Linked DNA regions of Homo sapiens: regions 1 and 2 are each linked to region 3. The links are contacts of gene promoters, found by promoter capture Hi-C in blood cells and fetal thymus (Javierre and others, 2016). All regions are on one chromosome and are shown on one strand. Each heading gives the region's core, a stretch centred on a gene start or on the middle of the fragment in contact. The rest is flanking DNA. Distances are from core to core; before and after follow the strand shown.

Region 1 (2,700 bases), core at 45-2,544, 390 kb after region 3:
TACTACTGATGCAGGGCACGTGAGCCCCAAAACTGGGGGTTAGTCTGGGTAGGTTCTTGGCTTTGCCCTGGAAAGAATTCAAGGGCAAGCTGGTAGTAGAAGAAAACAGCTTTATTGAGGCAGCAGAGTTACAGCTCCGTGACTGCTCCTGCAGAGCAGGGCTACGCTATAGGCAGTGTGTCCCTAGTAGCAGCTCAGGGGCAGTTTTGCTGTCATATTTATACCCAGTTTTAATTATATGCAAGTTAAGGAGTGGGCTATTAGACATTTCTAGAAAAGTGGTAACTTCTGGGGCATTACCATGGCATTGGCACACTGTCATGGCACTGGTGGGTGTGTCTTGTGGGGAGGTGCTTTTGGTGCCTCTTCCCTGTTTCAGCCAGTCTTCAGTCTGGTCCTGAGTCGAGTCCTCCCTCCTGCCTCACCACCAGTGATTGACCCTTTCTGGAATTCTTCATTGCCAGTCTGCTTGCCTTCTGTTGACCTCTCTTGTGGGCAGCTAAGTTTCAGTTTCGACACACTGGAACCATTTTCCAAAATTTTGCTGCTGTTTCCGTTGTGTTTTTTTCCCTTTCTGTGGGTTTTCACCTTTTTGTATTGCTTCCTGTCATTTTGATGGAGTTTGAGAAGGGAACAGAGATAAATGTATGTGTAGTCTGCTCTGTGTATTGAGAGCTCCTGGAAGGCTAAGGGAAGAACTGGCCTCTGGGAAGACGCTAGTGTCGCTACTACTTTGTTTCCTTAGCAACAGTCCTGACGGGGAGCTCCTTCATTGTATTCTGTTCCTACCGATACACGTTGCTCCTTTTTTTTTTTTGAGATGACTCTCATGCTGTCGCTCAGGCTGGAGTGCAATGGCACAATCTTGGCTCACTGCAACCTTCGCCTCCCAGGTTCAAGTGATTCTCCTGCCTCAGCCTCCCAAGTAGCTGAGATTACAGGCACTCACTACCACACCCAGATAATTTTTTTATTTTTAGTAGAGATTGGGTTTCACTATGTTGGCCGGGCTGATCTCGAACTCTTGACCTCATGTGGTCCACCCACCTCGGCCTCCCAAAGTGCTAGAATTACAGGCATGAGCCACCACGCCCAGCCACCTTTTCTTTTTTTTCTTTTGAAACAGGGTCTTCCTCTGTTGCTCAGGCTGGAGTGCAGTGGAGTGATTACAGCTCACTGCAGCCTTGACCTCCTGGGTTCTGGTGATTTCCCACCTCAGCCTCCTGAGTAGCTGGGACTACAGGCATGCACCACCATGTCTGACTAATTTTTTGTATTTTTTGTAGAAATGGGGTTTCTCTATGTTGCCTAGACTGGTCTCGAATTCCTGGGCTCAAGCAGTCTGCCCACATCAGCCTCCCAAAGTGCTTGGATTACAGGCATGAGCCACTACACCCAGCTGCCCCAGTTTTTCATTTGCATAATTTTCTATGCAAATTTTTTGCATTTTTTTAGTTCAGCCAAATTAGCTGAGGTCTAAAGCACTCCTTTTAGTGCAGTCACATTAGTTGAGGTTTCAACAAATTCATTAACAGTAAACCAGTGGTCCTCAACCCAGCTTCATATTAGGATCACTTGGGGAATTTTTAAATAACACAGCTGTCCCTGGCCCACCCCAGACCAATTAAATGGGAATCTCTGAGGGTAGGGTTTGGTGGTCAGTGTTGTTTTTTTTTAATGCTCCCCAGATAATTCAGATGTCTAGAAAGGATGGAGAACCACTGCTCCAAGGCATTTGATCCTTCATTAAGGATAATTTAACCTAACTCTACACATTCAATTACATCTGTTATCTTATTGTTATTCTTTCCATCTTACATTTCCACCCAACATTGGCCTCTTTCCTTCCTTGTATTCCCCAGACATGCTGTCACCTCAACAGCATTTTTTTTTTGAGACAGGGTCTTGCTCTGTCACCTAGCTGGAGTGCAGTGGCGTGATCATAGCTCACTGCAGCCTAGACCTCCCAGGCTCAAGCGATCCTCCCACCTCACCTCAGCCTCCCGAGTAACTGTGACTACAGGCATGTGCCACCATGGCTAATTTTTGTGGTTTTTGTTGAGACGAGGTTTTGCCCTATTGTTCAGGCTGGTCTCGAACTCCTGGATTCAAGTGATCCACCTGACTTGGCCTCCTAAGGTGCTGGGATTACATGCATGAGCCACCACTGCTGGCCATCATACCCTTTTATCTATCTGAATGTTTTGCAGATACTCTCAGTTTCTTCCTTCAGCTTCTTCAGATCTTTGCTCAAATGTCACCTTCTCAGTGAGACCTTCCTGTTCATGCCTTTTTAATTTCTATTTTGGCCAGGTGCTGTGGCTTACGTTTATAATCCCATCACTTTGGGAGGCCAAGGCAGGAGGATGGCTTGAGCCTAGGAGTTCAAGACCAGTCTGGACAACTTGGTAAAATCCTATCTCTACTAAAAATACCAAAATTAGCCAGGCATGGTGGCATGTACCTGTAACCCTAGCTACTCAGGAGGCTGAGGCATGAGAATCACTTGAATCTGGGAGGTGGAGGTGCAGTGAGCTGAGATCACGCCACAGCACTCCAGCCTGGGTGACAGAGCAAGACTGTCTCAAAAAAAAAAAAAAAAGAAAAGAAAAGAAAAAGTGAAAAGCATGCAAATTTATATCATATAAATTTACGTGACTAAGACCTGGAGAAACAGATAATGTGTATTTATGTTTAGGT
Region 2 (2,700 bases), core at 184-2,683, 260 kb after region 3:
CTATTACTTATAAAATAAGGCTCTGAAATGTAATGAATACAGCAGGTAAATACTTAAGTAACTGTGATAGTAACACAGATCTAAAAGTCTCATGAATATCATTTAATTACATATGTGTGTTTATTTGTGCTTTAGTGGAGAAAGTCTTTAATATAAAGTTCCAGAAGATAAATTTTCATTTTTATATCAAAATGAATGTTGAAGGTTCAAATTTAGAGCAAATAGAATTTTTACTTATGGCTAGTAAACAGTGATTTGCAGTTGCTAATTAAATATCTTGACCTTCATTTTTCTGCTTCTACTTTTGTATGATAGCTATATCTTAGAAATGATTTGAGGTTACCCAGGGAAAGTATAATGACATTGGTCAAGACAGACTCTTTCATGAAATAATTCATGGAGCAGAAATTCCATCAAGCAGAAGAAATGTCCAGCTTCTTAGGTAATGAAAAAAATATTTGAAACTAGTATATGGAAATGATGGAAGAATTTTAAAATTGGAATTTATAACAACTATATTGAGGAAAGGATGAAACCATACCTAAATATATAGAAAAATCGGCCTTAAAAATAATTTTTCAGAGCATGTCAAGCTAAAAGCCTGTATTCTTCAACAGTGAAAAAAATCTTAAAATGTTTTGAGAGATAAGGATATAGCCTTAGATCTAATGTGCCATAAATCTACAATTTATATCATACTAAGTATTTAGAAAATGTACTTTAAAATGTATACAGCAGTTTATTGATCTTCAAGATACCACATAGAAATCTGATAGCTTGTAGATGAAAATAGCATTTTTATATGACTAAGATGTTAGAGTCTAATAAGAGAATAAAACCATTAAAAAAAAAAGCTTAGTATTTGAATATTCCTAGCCATATCATTCTTAAATTTCTCAACTAAATGTCCTGAGAATCAGTTGCCCCATGTCTCTTCTAGATATTTCTATAAGTTAAGATAGGATGTCATCTGGATGTGAAACCTACTTTAGGCTTTTTGTAATGAAAATTATTTTTTTGACATAGGTCACCAGAAGGATTATGCGGCACGAATAAATTAGAATGTCATTTTAAGACTTCTGAATAGAATATGCCATGATGGTGGATTTTCCTTTTTGGTTGTCATTTAGAAGTAAAATCCCATGTAACTGACTGCTACTTTATTTTTTCTTAAGCCATCATGCCTTAAAAATTAGTAACTTGACTACGTTTCTAAGCATTAGTGGATGTTTTCATGGTTTTACATGTCTATACATCTCAATATGTATGTATTCCATTTTTACATTTTAGAAAAAAAAGATAGTTTTAAGAACTTCTAAAGTACCATTTTAGAAATTGCTTAATTACATGATATTCTTCTTTAAGCCATAATGTGTATACTCACTCAATACTTCATCCCAAGTGAGATCATTTGTTTTGCTAGACTAGTAAAACTCACTTTCATTTATTTGCCCTTATAAATATTAGCTTGACTAGCATAAGTGAGTATAAAAACATGTCTTGCCAAGTTAATCGATATGCTCTATGAATTTTCCTTGTATTTCAAACTAAAATTTTCCCTTTTCTATTATAAAATTGATACATATGAATTACAAATATTTGAAAAATACAAGAAAACCTCATAATCTAGTCACTCAGTAAATCTGCTATTATCATTTTGCAGTATTTTCTTTCATCTCTTTGTATGTATATTTGGGGGATATTTCTACATAGTTTCAATAAATGAATATTTTTACTTTAAGATTAGTATAAAACAGAATATCATAGACTTTCATGTGTGAGGAACTGCACACTAGTTAGACCAAATGTTTGAATCTGTACCCAGAATGATGAAAAGAAAAACAGGGTTTACTGCCCATTGTTCCAGCTTCAACTTGATACTTATGTTCATAGAATTTATTCTTCCAGGGCCTTTTAAATGACTTGCACAAGTAATCTTTGATTTACTTATGTCAAATTTACACGAATGGCATTCCTTGTCCAGTTAGGATCTTTCTCATCTTAATATTACAGAAGCTTCTTTATCCCTCTGCTTTCCTTTCTTTGTCCCTTTCTTCTTCTTTGCCTTCATCAACAAACATTTCTTCAGCACCTGTTATGTTTCAGGAAGTGTGCCAGGTTCAGGGAATATAAAGATGATTAAGCACAGTATTGCGCCTTGAGAACTTTTCCTCTCATCTATCAGTCTTACTGAATTCCTATGCTAGTTTCATTCCTTCTTTGCTCCATTCTTTTGCCTCTTTCCTAGCCAAGGATTCAACCTACTCCCCATTTCCATTGAAGATAGTGCCTTTCCTCACTTTGTTCTTGATGATTAAGGCAACAACTTGGTTACAGCTGGAGGGGTAAACATTAGAGCCAGGTTTAAGCCTGCTTAGCTTCTCTGTGTTTGAAGTCGTAATATTCCTACTGGAATCTGGTTGCTTTTAGAGGAGATTTTTCTTCACAGTCATCTGGCTCCTGGATCTTTGATGTGAGTCAAAACTTAGGACTAGGAGGGTCACAGAGAAAGCTATGACCCTGACTTTATTTAAAAACATACGTGAATTTTTTTTTTTTTTTTGAGACGGAGTTTTGCTCTTGTTGACCAGGCTGGAGTGCAATGGCACGATCTGGGCTCACTGCAACCTGCACCTCCTGGGTTCAAGTGATTCTCCTGCCTCAGCCTCCCGAGTAGATGGGATTACAGGTGCCTGCCAC
Region 3 (2,700 bases), core at 46-2,545:
TAGGACAAAGCACAGTTTTCATTTTTAAGCTCTTTTCTAAGGGTAAAAAAGTTATGTCCAAAAATTATATATATATATTTATGGAAATGGAGCATGCAAATATGGTAAGATTTGCATTTAATTTTTTGACATATTTGCTACAGGTTGACATACACGATAAGGGTCCAAATTCAAATCAATGAATTTAACGTGACCATTTTTTAACACCTGTCAAGACAGGCAAAAAAATTATTTTTAAATACCTGCATTTGCCTCTCAAATTCAGAATATACCCATCCTCCTCAGATACGAGTGGCAAGAAACTGACAACAGCTAAATAGCTTTCAAGTTAAATTCAGAGGGGAAAAATGTCAGAGTACTTCCACTCTGAAAAACTCTCTACCATGGGGGAAAAAAGATGTCCATATGAACATAACTCACTTTAGACAGGAGCAAAGTTGGGGTGAGCAATTAACAGGTGGGAGAAGATTTAAAAAAAACACAGAAAAGCAGCCAAGACAACCTTAACCGGAGAAAACTAGAGCCAGTCGAGCCAGAAAACAGACCCATCGTAGAATGAAAAAGACCACTCTGATGGAAACTATCGCACTTTAACCTGGAATCCTTCAGTTCTAGATATAAGTTTTAAAACAAAACCCTACGCAAGTAAGCCCAGAGAAGAACACAAAAATAGCCATACCTAAATTTTCCCCTTCTTCAATCCGCGACAGACACTGCATAACCCGCAGCAATCGGGACACGGTGTGCTCCTTCCCCAAGGGCCTGACAAGCAAAGCTGGGAGAGAAGACATCGTTGGCTGGGCGACCCCCAGTCCCGACTCCCGGTCCCCCGGACCCCCTTCCCCGGCGCTCCAACCCCCCTCCCCCGGCCCGGCCCTCACCCTGCATGATGTCCCGGATCTGTCTGAAGTCCCCGTACCGGCTACCCCGAAAGGCCCGCAGCGCCTCGTGGAAGTAGAACTTGAGCACCCAGCGATTGACTGCCTCTTCCAGCCGTGCCTCCCCCGCGCCGCGCTCCGCCGGGCCCCCCAGCCCCGGCTCGTGGCGCCCCCGCCGGGCCCGCCCGCTACTGCGGGACGCCCGCCTGCCAGCTGCCCGCCCGCTGCCGTCGCTACTCCCGCCTCCTCCCGCCATCGTGTCCGATCGCCGCGCGCCCTCCCCGCCCTCCCGGCCGGGCCGCTTCCTCGGCTGTGACGCCGCTGGGTCACGCACGACGCCCGGGCCGGAAGCGGGGCCCGCCGTCCCGGCTCCCGCGGCCATGATAGAAACAGCGTTCCGAGCCGCCCGCGGGCTTCTGGGAGGGAAAGGACCGGAGGGCCCGGCCCCCTTCTCAGACGCCGTAGTTCCCGATGTGCCGGCCGCAATGCCTCCTGGGGCTTGAAGTCCACACCGCCCAGGCCGGTGAACCCGGCGGGTTTTGCAGTCAACTTCGCTCCGAATTTACAGAAAACAGCTACTATGCTAGGGACGCGGAACAGTGTATTAGAGACTGAAAAACAGGCCGGGATCGGTGGCTCTACGCCTGTAATCCCAGCACTTTGGGAGGCTGAGGCGGGTGGATCACCTGAGGTCGGGAGTTCGAGACCAGCCTGACCAACATGGAGAAACCCCATCTCTACTAAAAATACAAAATTAGCCAGACGTGGTGGCGCATGCCTGTAATCCTAGCTACTCAGGAGGCTGAGGCAGGAGACTCGCTTGAACCCGCGAGGCGGAGGTTGCGGTGAGCCGAGATCGCGCCATTGCACTCCAGTCTGGGCAACAAGAGCGAAACTCCGTCTCAAAAAAAAGAAAAGAAAAAAAAGAAAACCAAATATGTGCACCTTATTAAACACTTTGAAAATTGTGGAAGAGAGCATACACAGAGGAAAGTCTTTAAACAAATTTGTATTTTAACAAATACTGTAATTATAAAGCAAAGACCAGTGTGATACCAATAAATAGAATGCACCTGGCAACCCAGCCGCTAGACATATACTCTTTGTAATCACAAAAATAACACATTTTGTTGTAGAACAATTAGAAAAATAAGCAAAAGGACCACCCATAGTCCCATAGAGGGTCTGAGTCACTTTCAGATATCTCTGATACTCTTGGAATTCACCAACTGGCACTTGACCAAATGGAGAACCTCCAGCTCAGACCTTAGTTCAGGATGGTGGTTGTGGGTGCCTCTTCCTGAGAGGCCCAGTAACTGGTCTAGCTTCAAAGATTGTCCTACCAGCCCCACTAGTCTGGAACCTGCAAAGATCCAGTTTGGGGCCACTCAAAGACAACTCAGAAGTGCAGGTGGCCATGTCCTTGAGGATGTGAATCCCATGCTGGACCTGTGAATTAATATCAGGACCTTAATATGTATAGTATCCTGGAAAGCCAAAAGTTCTATGAGGTACACGTTCCGGGATGAGAGAAGAGGCCTCTAGGTCTGACTGATCTTTGGTGATCATAGCTGCTTTTCTTTTTTTTCTTTGTTTTTCTTGAGATGGAATCTCGTTCTGTCGCCCAAGCTGGAGTGCAGTGGCACGATCTCGGCTCACTGCAAGCTCCGCCTCTGGGTTCATGCCATTCTCCTGCCTCAGCCTCCCGAGTGGCTGGGACTACAGGCGCCCACTACCATGCCCAGCTAATTTTTTGTATTTTTAGTAGAGACGGGGTTTCACTGTGTTAGCCAGGATGGTCTCCATCTCCTGACCTCGTGAT

What was found. Contacts are between HindIII fragments. The CHiCAGO score rates a contact against its expected background, and 5 or more counts as called.
Region 1: a contact is called between a fragment that was not itself captured here and the fragment with the promoter of TERF2 in region 3, in 1 of 17 cell types (neutrophils). The highest score is 5.1, in neutrophils.
Region 2: a fragment that was not itself captured here is called in contact with the fragment with the promoter of TERF2 in region 3 in 1 of 17 cell types (activated CD4 T cells); the score reaches 5.6 in activated CD4 T cells.

The regions. Positions count from the first base shown.
Region 1 is chr16:69,772,381-69,775,080 of GRCh38, forward strand. All of the region lies in intron 1 of WWP2 (WW domain containing E3 ubiquitin protein ligase 2), which reads left to right. Among named protein-coding and RNA genes, the nearest start is that of WWP2, 11 kb to the left of the region's middle. RefSeq lists an enhancer at 904-1,103. The HindIII fragment of the contact is 6,611 bases long and covers 1-2,700 here.
Region 2 is chr16:69,649,125-69,651,824 of GRCh38, forward strand. The region is part of intron 4 of NFAT5 (nuclear factor of activated T cells 5); the gene reads left to right. Among named protein-coding and RNA genes, the nearest start is that of SNORD13H, 58 kb to the right of the region's middle. The HindIII fragment of the contact is 1,162 bases long and covers 853-2,014 here.
Region 3 is chr16:69,384,712-69,387,411 of GRCh38, forward strand. TERF2 (telomeric repeat binding factor 2) reads right to left here and starts at 1,296. Exons shown (of 10, transcript NM_005652.5): 1 at 882-1,296; 2 at 680-775. The coding sequence starts at 1,260. RefSeq lists a silencer at 912-1,291. The HindIII fragment of the contact is 13,848 bases long and covers 1-2,700 here.